2 separate regions of the Homo sapiens genome follow, and region 2 is linked to region 1. The links are contacts of gene promoters, found by promoter capture Hi-C in blood cells and fetal thymus (Javierre and others, 2016). All regions are on one chromosome and are shown on one strand. Each heading gives the region's core, a stretch centred on a gene start or on the middle of the fragment in contact. The rest is flanking DNA. Distances are from core to core; before and after follow the strand shown. Region 1 holds the start of BLOC1S4 (biogenesis of lysosomal organelles complex 1 subunit 4). Region 2 has its middle 2.3 kb from the start of WFS1.

Region 1 (4,233 bases), core at 438-2,937:
GAGATGCCACACTACCTTTCATGAACTAATGTCCAAATCATACATCATCACTTCTGTGTTTTTCAGTTTATTATGAGCAAATGAAGTCACTAAGTCCAGTACATACTCGACAAGAGGGAATACACAAGAGTGAGAATACCAGGAGTAAGAAATCACTGGGAGTCATCTTGAAGGCTGGCTAGCAATCACAGTTTGCCCCCTGACTACCAATTCTTCATGCCATTTTAACGTGCTAACCACACTCCCCTCTATCCAAGGTCCCCAAAAGTTACATTTTTTTAAATCTCATGTAGTTTTAGGTATTACTATCCTATTGTCACATCAGCTTTAAGTCCAGAATTTTGTCTTCTCAATAAGATCAGATGTAGATGAGGCTTTCTGAGCTTAGTTCCTTAAATTCAGCTCCTAGAGTACAATTCTTCTTGATCTGTAGACTTTTGAAACTAAGGAGACAAGTTCTCTGCCCCCATGCCTGGAATATACAGTTGTGGGGCTGGCACAGGATAATCACTACAGACCTGTTCTGCTCCACTACGACTAGATTAGCCACTGCCACTCCTGTTCAAAAAGGGGGAAATTGGAAGTACAAACAAGTTGCCAGCCCACAGTAACTCTGCCATCCAGTCTCAAGGTCTAGGACTCCATGACTCCCAGTTCCACCATCTGGGCTCCTGGTTTCATGCCCTGAGTTATACTTCCTTTTTTGTGAAATGTGGCATGTGTTTGCCAATGAGTCTTTTTCTCAGTCTGATTCCTGCTTGTACAAGTTTGGGGAGAGGGGATCCAAAGGCCTGTTCCTTTCAGTCCAATCTGCAATGTTTGTGTCAATATAATTATCTTTAAAAAACTTTATAGGTCTCCTGTGAATCTCATCGGGGTTCACTCCGTTAAACAAAAGTGCTACCTACAAATCCCTTTGAGATAAGTCCATCTCTATCTTGGGCTTCTGCTAATACTGACGAACAAGCCTTAAGCCTTCTGGAGGCCTTGTGGTTTGACTGATGGACTCTGTGAGCCACACCATTAATCTCTTTAAGGAGCTGTTAGTCTAACTGAATGGTATTCTCAGGCACCGTCTTTGCTTTTTTTTTTGAGATTTTAAAGGATTTAACCGTCACATCTCAACTTCACCTTTGTTTTTTTCTGGCAGTACCCTGGATTTGATATTTGCTTGGAAACTATTACTATTTCTTAGTTTTACGCCATTTGCAATCAGGCGAAGCTGAGGACTTTAAAAATCATCCAAAGTCGTCAAGGTCCATCCCTTTTGTGTTTCGTCTTGCTTATCTCATTTATTTTACTATAAACAGCAAAAAGAAATGAAGGACAGGAGGGAGACGTTCATGGGTGCTGGACATGTCCTACCTGTTGGTCTGGATAGAAGATGCATGGTTGTATGGATGTGTACAAAGTCATCAATGTGCACACTTAAAATGTATGCACTGTATTGTATTCCTGCTATACCTTCGCTTAAAAAAGAAAAAAAAGGTTGAATGTGAGTTCGGGCGTGAGAAAACAGCAGCGCGCATGCGTGAGCGTGAGCGCGCATGCGTGAGCGTGAGCGCGCTGGGAGGCCGGAAACAAAGGTGGATGCGCGTGAACAGACGCCCTCGCAGGCCGCCGGAAGCAAAGGCGTGAGCGCGCGTGCGTGCGTGTGCGGGTGCGTGAGCGTGAGCGCGCGGAGGCCGGAAGCGAGCGCTGCGCAGTCGGGTGGTCGCGGGCCATGGAGGGTAGCTTTTCGGATGGCGGAGCGCTGCCGGAGGGGCTCGCGGAAGAGGCCGAGCCGCAGGGCGCCGCCTGGAGCGGGGACAGTGGCACTGTTTCCCAGAGCCACAGCAGCGCCTCGGGGCCGTGGGAGGACGAGGGCGCGGAGGACGGCGCGCCGGGCCGCGACCTGCCGCTGCTTCGCCGCGCCGCTGCGGGCTACGCCGCCTGCCTGCTGCCCGGGGCCGGGGCGCGGCCCGAGGTCGAGGCCCTGGACGCGAGCCTAGAGGACCTGCTTACCAGAGTGGACGAGTTCGTGGGCATGCTGGACATGCTTCGCGGCGACTCGTCCCACGTCGTCAGCGAGGGCGTGCCGCGCATCCACGCGAAGGCCGCCGAGATGCGGCGCATCTACAGCAGGATCGACCGGCTGGAGGCCTTCGTGAGGATGGTGGGGGGCCGCGTGGCCAGGATGGAGGAGCAGGTCACCAAGGCCGAGGCCGAGCTGGGCACCTTCCCCAGGGCGTTCAAGAAGCTCCTGCACACGATGAACGTGCCCTCGCTCTTTAGCAAGTCTGCTCCCTCGAGGCCACAGCAAGCCGGCTACGAAGCCCCCGTCCTGTTTCGGACCGAAGACTACTTCCCTTGTTGCAGTGAAAGGCCTCAGCTCTGACGGCCTGACCACTGCGGCAAGAGGACCCCAGCTGGGGTGCTTACCTCCAGTATGAAGTGAATTGCAAATCCTGCTTATGGACATATATGATGTTGGAGTGTGGGATTTTAAAGTTTACTTTCTACAAACTCTCCGTAGTATATTCATGATTCAGTGTAGAATGTATAGACTTTATGTCTTCCAAGTTTAAAAAAAGAGACAGGGTCTTGGTATGTTGCCCAGACTGTTCGGAAACTCCTGGGCTCAAGTGATCCTTCCACCTCAGCCTCCCCAGTAGCTGGGACTACGGGGTCGCCACTGCACCCAGCCTGTGTCTTCCAGCTCTAATCAGAAAGCTGCTTGTCGAGGGCATGGGGAATCAAACTGAATGAACTTTTCTCTGCACTGTGGCAAAACTGTTATTTTTATGGATTTTACTAAATGGCGTTACCTTTTCAAGATTTATATGTTTGTATAATCATAAGAAAATTGAGCCATTAAAGCCTTGTTATTCAATCCTAATAGTCAGTTTTCTAGAACCTACTTTTAGGGTAAATGGTACATTATTTAATATTATATTAAACCTCCTATAGCGTGGATTGTAGACCAAAGGAAATGGTACAATTTCTGAGAATATATGTTGATTTTTTGTGACTAATTCCAAAGTTGTATTTGAAAGTATGACCTCACAGTCTTCATTTGTCCATAGCAAACATATGTGTGTGTGTGTGTATATATATATGTGGGTTGCCAATGTTTGGTTTATAATTTAAATGTTAATAGAAATTTTGAGTTTTATTGGAAATGATTTCCTTCTGAAAAGAGCTTTACGTATTTCCTTGTGTGTGTTTGAAATAGACGTACTGCTCATGTGCTTTTTTAGTAGTGGGATAAAGAAAAGGGGCTTGAGTATACCTCCTTTAGAGAGCTAATGTGAAAAGCTGTAGCTTCTATTTCAGAGCATGGTATATTTCTTTTCTTTTTTTTTTTTTTTTTTTTTTTTGAGACGGAGTCATGCTCTGTCGCCCAGGCTGGAGTGCAGTGGCGCAATCTCGGCCCACTGCAAGCTCCGCCTCCCGCGTTCACGCCATTCTCCTGCCTCAGCCTCCTGAGTAGCTGGGACTACAGGCGCCTGCCACCATGCCCGGCTAATTTTTTTTGTATTTTGTATTTTTTTTTAGTAGAGACGGGTTTTCACTGTGTTAGCCAGGATGGTCTCGATCCCCTGACCTCGTGATCCACCTGCCTCGGCCTCCCAAAGTGCTGAGATTACAGGCGTGAGCCACCGCGCCCGTCCAGAGCATGGTATATTTCTTTCCTCTCGAAATGGATAGTTAAATTATTTGTGTGAGTGAATGGTATTAGGATTTTCCTGCGGATACAGTAGACTTTTATTGAGATTCAAATCTATTTTATAAGGTGGCCCTCCTAAATAGTAGATGCTAAAAAAGCATACAGCTTAGGTTGCTTTTGTGTCATTTGCAGTGTCATCAAAGATCTTTGAGGTTCATAGAGTAGCTGTATTTTCATTTAGCTGTGTGTTGTGAAGAATCTGATCATGTAATCTTGCACCTAGCTTTCGTGGACCTTCATTGTCACATATTTACGTTTTTTATTCAGGTGGTTCATTGACGACAAATTAAGGAACTCTGAATGTAGAAGCTGAAAGAACAAGTAACCTACATTTAATATTCAGCAACTGCTGGTACCCCTATAAGTAATTCATGTGTTTCGATGACATAGTCACTGAATATGAAAATATCCTTACATAACAAAACATTGCTAAAAGATTTTTCACTTAAAGTTAACATTCAAAAGCAGTAATTAGGGGCCGGGCGCGGTAGTTCACAAGCACTTTGAGAGGCTGAGGCAGGCGG
Region 2 (4,233 bases), core at 1,568-4,067, 450 kb before region 1:
CCATCAAGCCCGGCTAATTTTGTATTTTTAGTAGAGACGGGGTTTCACCATGTTGGTCAGGCTGGTCTCAAACTCCCGACCTCAGGTGATCCACCCCCCACCTCCAGGCCTCCCAAAGTGCTGGGATCACAGGCGTGAGCCACCATGCCTGGCCCATGTTGTTCTTATCTCATTAACCCAGTGGGCTAAAAACTCATTGCCACACTCAGTAGCTTAAACCACAGAAATGGATTCTGCCACAGTTATGAAGGCCGGAAGTCTGAAATCAGTGTCACTGGGCAAAAATCAAGGAGAATCTGTTCCCTGCTCTTCCAGATTCCAGGGACTGCCTGCATTCCTTGACTTGTGGCCACATAATTCCTATCTTCAATGCCAGCGTCTTGGAATCTCTCTCTGCTCTATGTCCACATCAACTTCTCCGTGTGTGGTCAAATCTCTGTCTGCCTCTCTCCTGCAAGGAGATAAGCCAGGCTAATGGCCCCTTCTCAAAATCCTTAATCACATCTGCAAAAACCCTTTTCTAAATAAGGTACCATTCACAGGCTCCAGGAAGTGATCTCTTTGGGGGCCTTGTACACCAATAGCCTGTAAACCGCCACACTCTGCTGTCTTTCAAATGACAACTCACCAAGCCTCTGTCCTCATTTTCTTTGAATACTTGGCATGTAGTCCAATGCCTGGAACAGGCAGGATGTCACTAAATGTTTATATTTTTTAATTTTTATTTATTTTATTATTATTCTTATTATTTTTGAGACAGAGTTTTACTCTGTCGCCCAGGCTGGAGTGCAGTGGCATGATCTCTGCTCACTGCAACCTCCAGTTCCTGGGATCAAGCGATTCTCCTGCCTCAGCCTCCTGTGTAGCTGGGATTACAGGCATGTGCCATGACGCCCGGCTAATTTTTTTGTATTTTTAGTAGAGATGGGGTTTCTCCATGTTGGCCAGGCTGGTCTCGAACTGCTGACCTCAAGTGATCCACCCACCTCGGCCTCCCAAAGGGCTAGGATTACAGGTGTGAGCCACCACGCCTGGCCAAAAGTCACTAAATGTTTGTTGAGTAAATGGAAGTAGGTTTTAAATAGGTGTAGGGAAGGAAGTGGGCCAAGAACTTGAATGCAGAGTCTGAAAATCATGGGCAGACATCAAAGGACTGAATTGTGGGGGGTATATTTGGATGTCAGGTTAAAGAGTTTGGACACTGTCCTATGGGCAAGAAAGAGCTTATATGAAGTCCTTGCATAGGTGATTCATCCATCCATCCATCCATTCATTCATTCAATACTCAGCAGCAACATGCAGAGCTCAGCTCTTGGGGGAATGAGGACAGGTGTCCTAGAAAAGATAGCATTGAACAGCTGGCTCTTTCTCCCACCAGAGTTGTGTTTTAATAAGTTCTAGTATTTCTAGCAGTTACTGCTTTAAGTGTGTGGCTACTAGATTTTCTGGCTCATTCAGATTCATGACAATGAAATCTTTGTGGATTGTGCCTGGCACCCTTACATAATACCACTCTTCCCGTGAATGCTTTCCATCATGCGTTCTTCCTTATCAATAGTAATTTGCCATTTTTCAAATGTCTGCTGTGATCTTCTACTTCTCAATATTTTTGGTGTGTTTCTTGTAAATAGCGCTTAACTGGACTTTAGTTTTTGCCCCAATCTTACAGACTTTGGATGGGAAATTCAGCCCATTCACCGTGTTACGAAGGCGGGTAGCCATGGCTTTATTTATTTTATCTCATCTTATGTTTACTATTATTAAGCTTATTGTTCTTGCTATTATTTACTTTCCCCCTTAATTTTGCTTCCTTACTCTCCCTCCACCCCTCCCCCAACTTCTACCTAGTAATTCAGGAGTTCTACTCTGCTTCTTTCCCGTGAGTTGCTACTTTCCAATTCCTGAGAGTCATAATTCAACCAATCTTTCCCTGATAATGTATTAAAAGTAAATGGTAATGAAGCCCCCTCCCCACCACCAATAAGGCTTTCCTTCCCCAGCTGAGAGTCATAATTAAACCAATCTTTCCCTGCTAATGTATTAAAAGTAAATGGTAATGAAGCACCCCTCCCAACCACCAATAAGGCTTTCCTTCCCCACTCACCAAATCAGATCCTTTTACTTCCTCCTTCTCCCCTCAACCAAATGTGATCTTAAAATATTCTGACTTCTCTGTGATAAGATTCTATTTTTTTTTTTAGTTCCAGGCTAATACAACTTTCTCTTGAAGCATGTAGCTTATGTTTTAAGAATCCTTATGTGGCACTGCTAGTACAAAATCACAGGCACATGTGGATTATCCATACTGTATATTTTGCAAGGGTCATTGCTTAACACCACTTCCTGTTCTGAGCGTTTGCTCTATCTTGAAATCTCTACTGTGATTGAACTGTCTCGGTGACGGGGGAACTCTGAATATCTTCCTCTGAAAGGGGACATCACTGAGGTCCTTTCTCTGTCTTGCCACAGTGGATATTTTCTCTCTTTTGTCCACATAGATGAATCCTGTAGTAGCCATGGTAAGGATCCTTGATCCTATCATCAGAGTCCCTGGACATTGCTCCAAAGTCCCCTAGGAACCACTTCAACTTTTCTCCCCTTAGATGTGACCTGTTCTTTCTGGAACTCTGCAAGACCGTCTCTTTATCCTTGGCATCTGGGATTTCCAGGGACACGTTCTCCTGGCACTTTGCTCACCTCTGTTTCCCCTCCAGCTCTTCCTGGAGTACCTGTCCTTTGTGCAATACACCTCCTGGAACTGTCTTTCCAGTCTCTGCTTTTTGTCCTGATGATTTTCATGTGCTTTTCCTCTACATCATGAAGCATTTACTCCACATTATCTTCCAGTTTGCTCATTTGTCCTCACCTCCACTCTTCTCTTTCTGAATTTGCCTGTTGCTTTTTCAGTCTCTTAGCTCCGTGGAGTATGTTCAGTGTTGCTGTGTTCTGATAGAGGCTCCTTAAGCCATCTTGTAGATTTTTTGTTGCACTTCCTCTCTTCCCTTAGACCTCCACAGGAGGAACTTTTCAATCTGTCCTCTTCTCTCTGCTTAATGAGCCCCTGCAAAGGGTTTGGGAAGTGCTTCAGCCTCTCTGTGATTGTGTGTTCACATTAATATTTATTATTTTCTTAAATGTGCATAAATCTCACAATGTGAACAGTGATCATCTTTGAGTGATTTTTTTTCTCCTTTCTACTTTTAGTAATTCTCCAAATTTTCTACAGTTAGTGTGTGATAAGGTGGAAAGACATCTTCAAGACTTTGGGCAAATAACTATGTCTGAGCCTCAATTTTCACATCAATAAAAAATGGGCTCAGTGCCACCTCCCTCCTTGGGTCACTAGGGGGGCCCTTGAAAGCTGTGAAAGCCCCTAAGCCAACCTGGACAGAGCAGGCGAGGCTGACGGCAGGTGTTCTTCCTTCCTCTGTGAGCCTCACAGGGTCACACGTGAACATTGGGGATCGGGGGTGGGCAGTGGGGGCAGCTGGAGAATCAAATGAGGTGACTGACATGAACTACGCCGCTTTGACAAAAGTCCTCCGAAGTAGTGTGTTCAGAACTCATCTCCAAAGCCATCTGGAATATTTGCTCCCAACATGTTGGTAAGCATTATCTCTGACAGTCACTCCGAGCCCCAGTTTCTGCTGTGATAACTAGGACAGGTAGCTCAGGTTGGTTGTGGGGACCAGAGACAGAGCAGGCAGGGTCTCACGTTCCCCAGGGCCTCTCAAGGATAGACCCTCGCCCTCATCTCCAAACCACGCCTCCCAGACAGGAACCAAACTCCCAGAGTCTCCAAACTGCCTGAGCCTTGCCCACTCCCTGGGCTAACACACACTTTAAAGGAATCCCACAGTCACCGTGTGAAAAGCTTGCTACACTGCATTTGATTCTGGGCACTGAAAGCAGTACTTGGCTGCAGACACTCGTTTCAAACAGGCCCCATTTTTCCATCTCTGCTGCTGTTATTAGGGGAGCCCTTAGACTCTCTTGCAGCGCCGGAATAGGCGCTCAAGACGTGTGTTAATATTGCAACAGCAAATATAATGAATCTGCAGTTGGGGACGCTGAGGCCGGAGTGGTGGATGAAAGGTGGCCGGAGCCTTTTCCACGGGTCCAAACCACCTGTTACAGGAGAAGGCGAGCGGCCTCGCTAAGCAACTGGACGTTCCGCGGGCGGGGCGGGGGCGGGGCCGGGGCCCGAGTCCGCTCGGAAACTTTCGCTGTGGG

The links. Contacts are between HindIII fragments. The CHiCAGO score rates a contact against its expected background, and 5 or more counts as called.
Region 2: a contact is called between a fragment that was not itself captured here and the fragment with the promoter of BLOC1S4 in region 1, in 1 of 17 cell types (total B cells). The highest score is 5.7, in total B cells.

The regions. Positions count from the first base shown.
Region 1 is chr4:6,714,487-6,718,719 of GRCh38, forward strand. It overlaps BLOC1S4 (biogenesis of lysosomal organelles complex 1 subunit 4), which reads left to right and starts at 1,688. Exons shown (of 1, transcript NM_018366.3): 1 at 1,688-3,178. The coding sequence starts at 1,724. The coding sequence ends at 2,377. RefSeq lists enhancers at 1,408-1,607, 2,090-2,729 and a silencer at 1,888-1,937. The HindIII fragment of the contact is 17,705 bases long and covers 1-4,233 here.
Region 2 is chr4:6,265,410-6,269,642 of GRCh38, forward strand. No RefSeq gene overlaps it. Among named protein-coding and RNA genes, the nearest start is that of WFS1, 2.3 kb to the right of the region's middle. RefSeq lists an enhancer at 1-223. The HindIII fragment of the contact is 2,109 bases long and covers 1,764-3,872 here.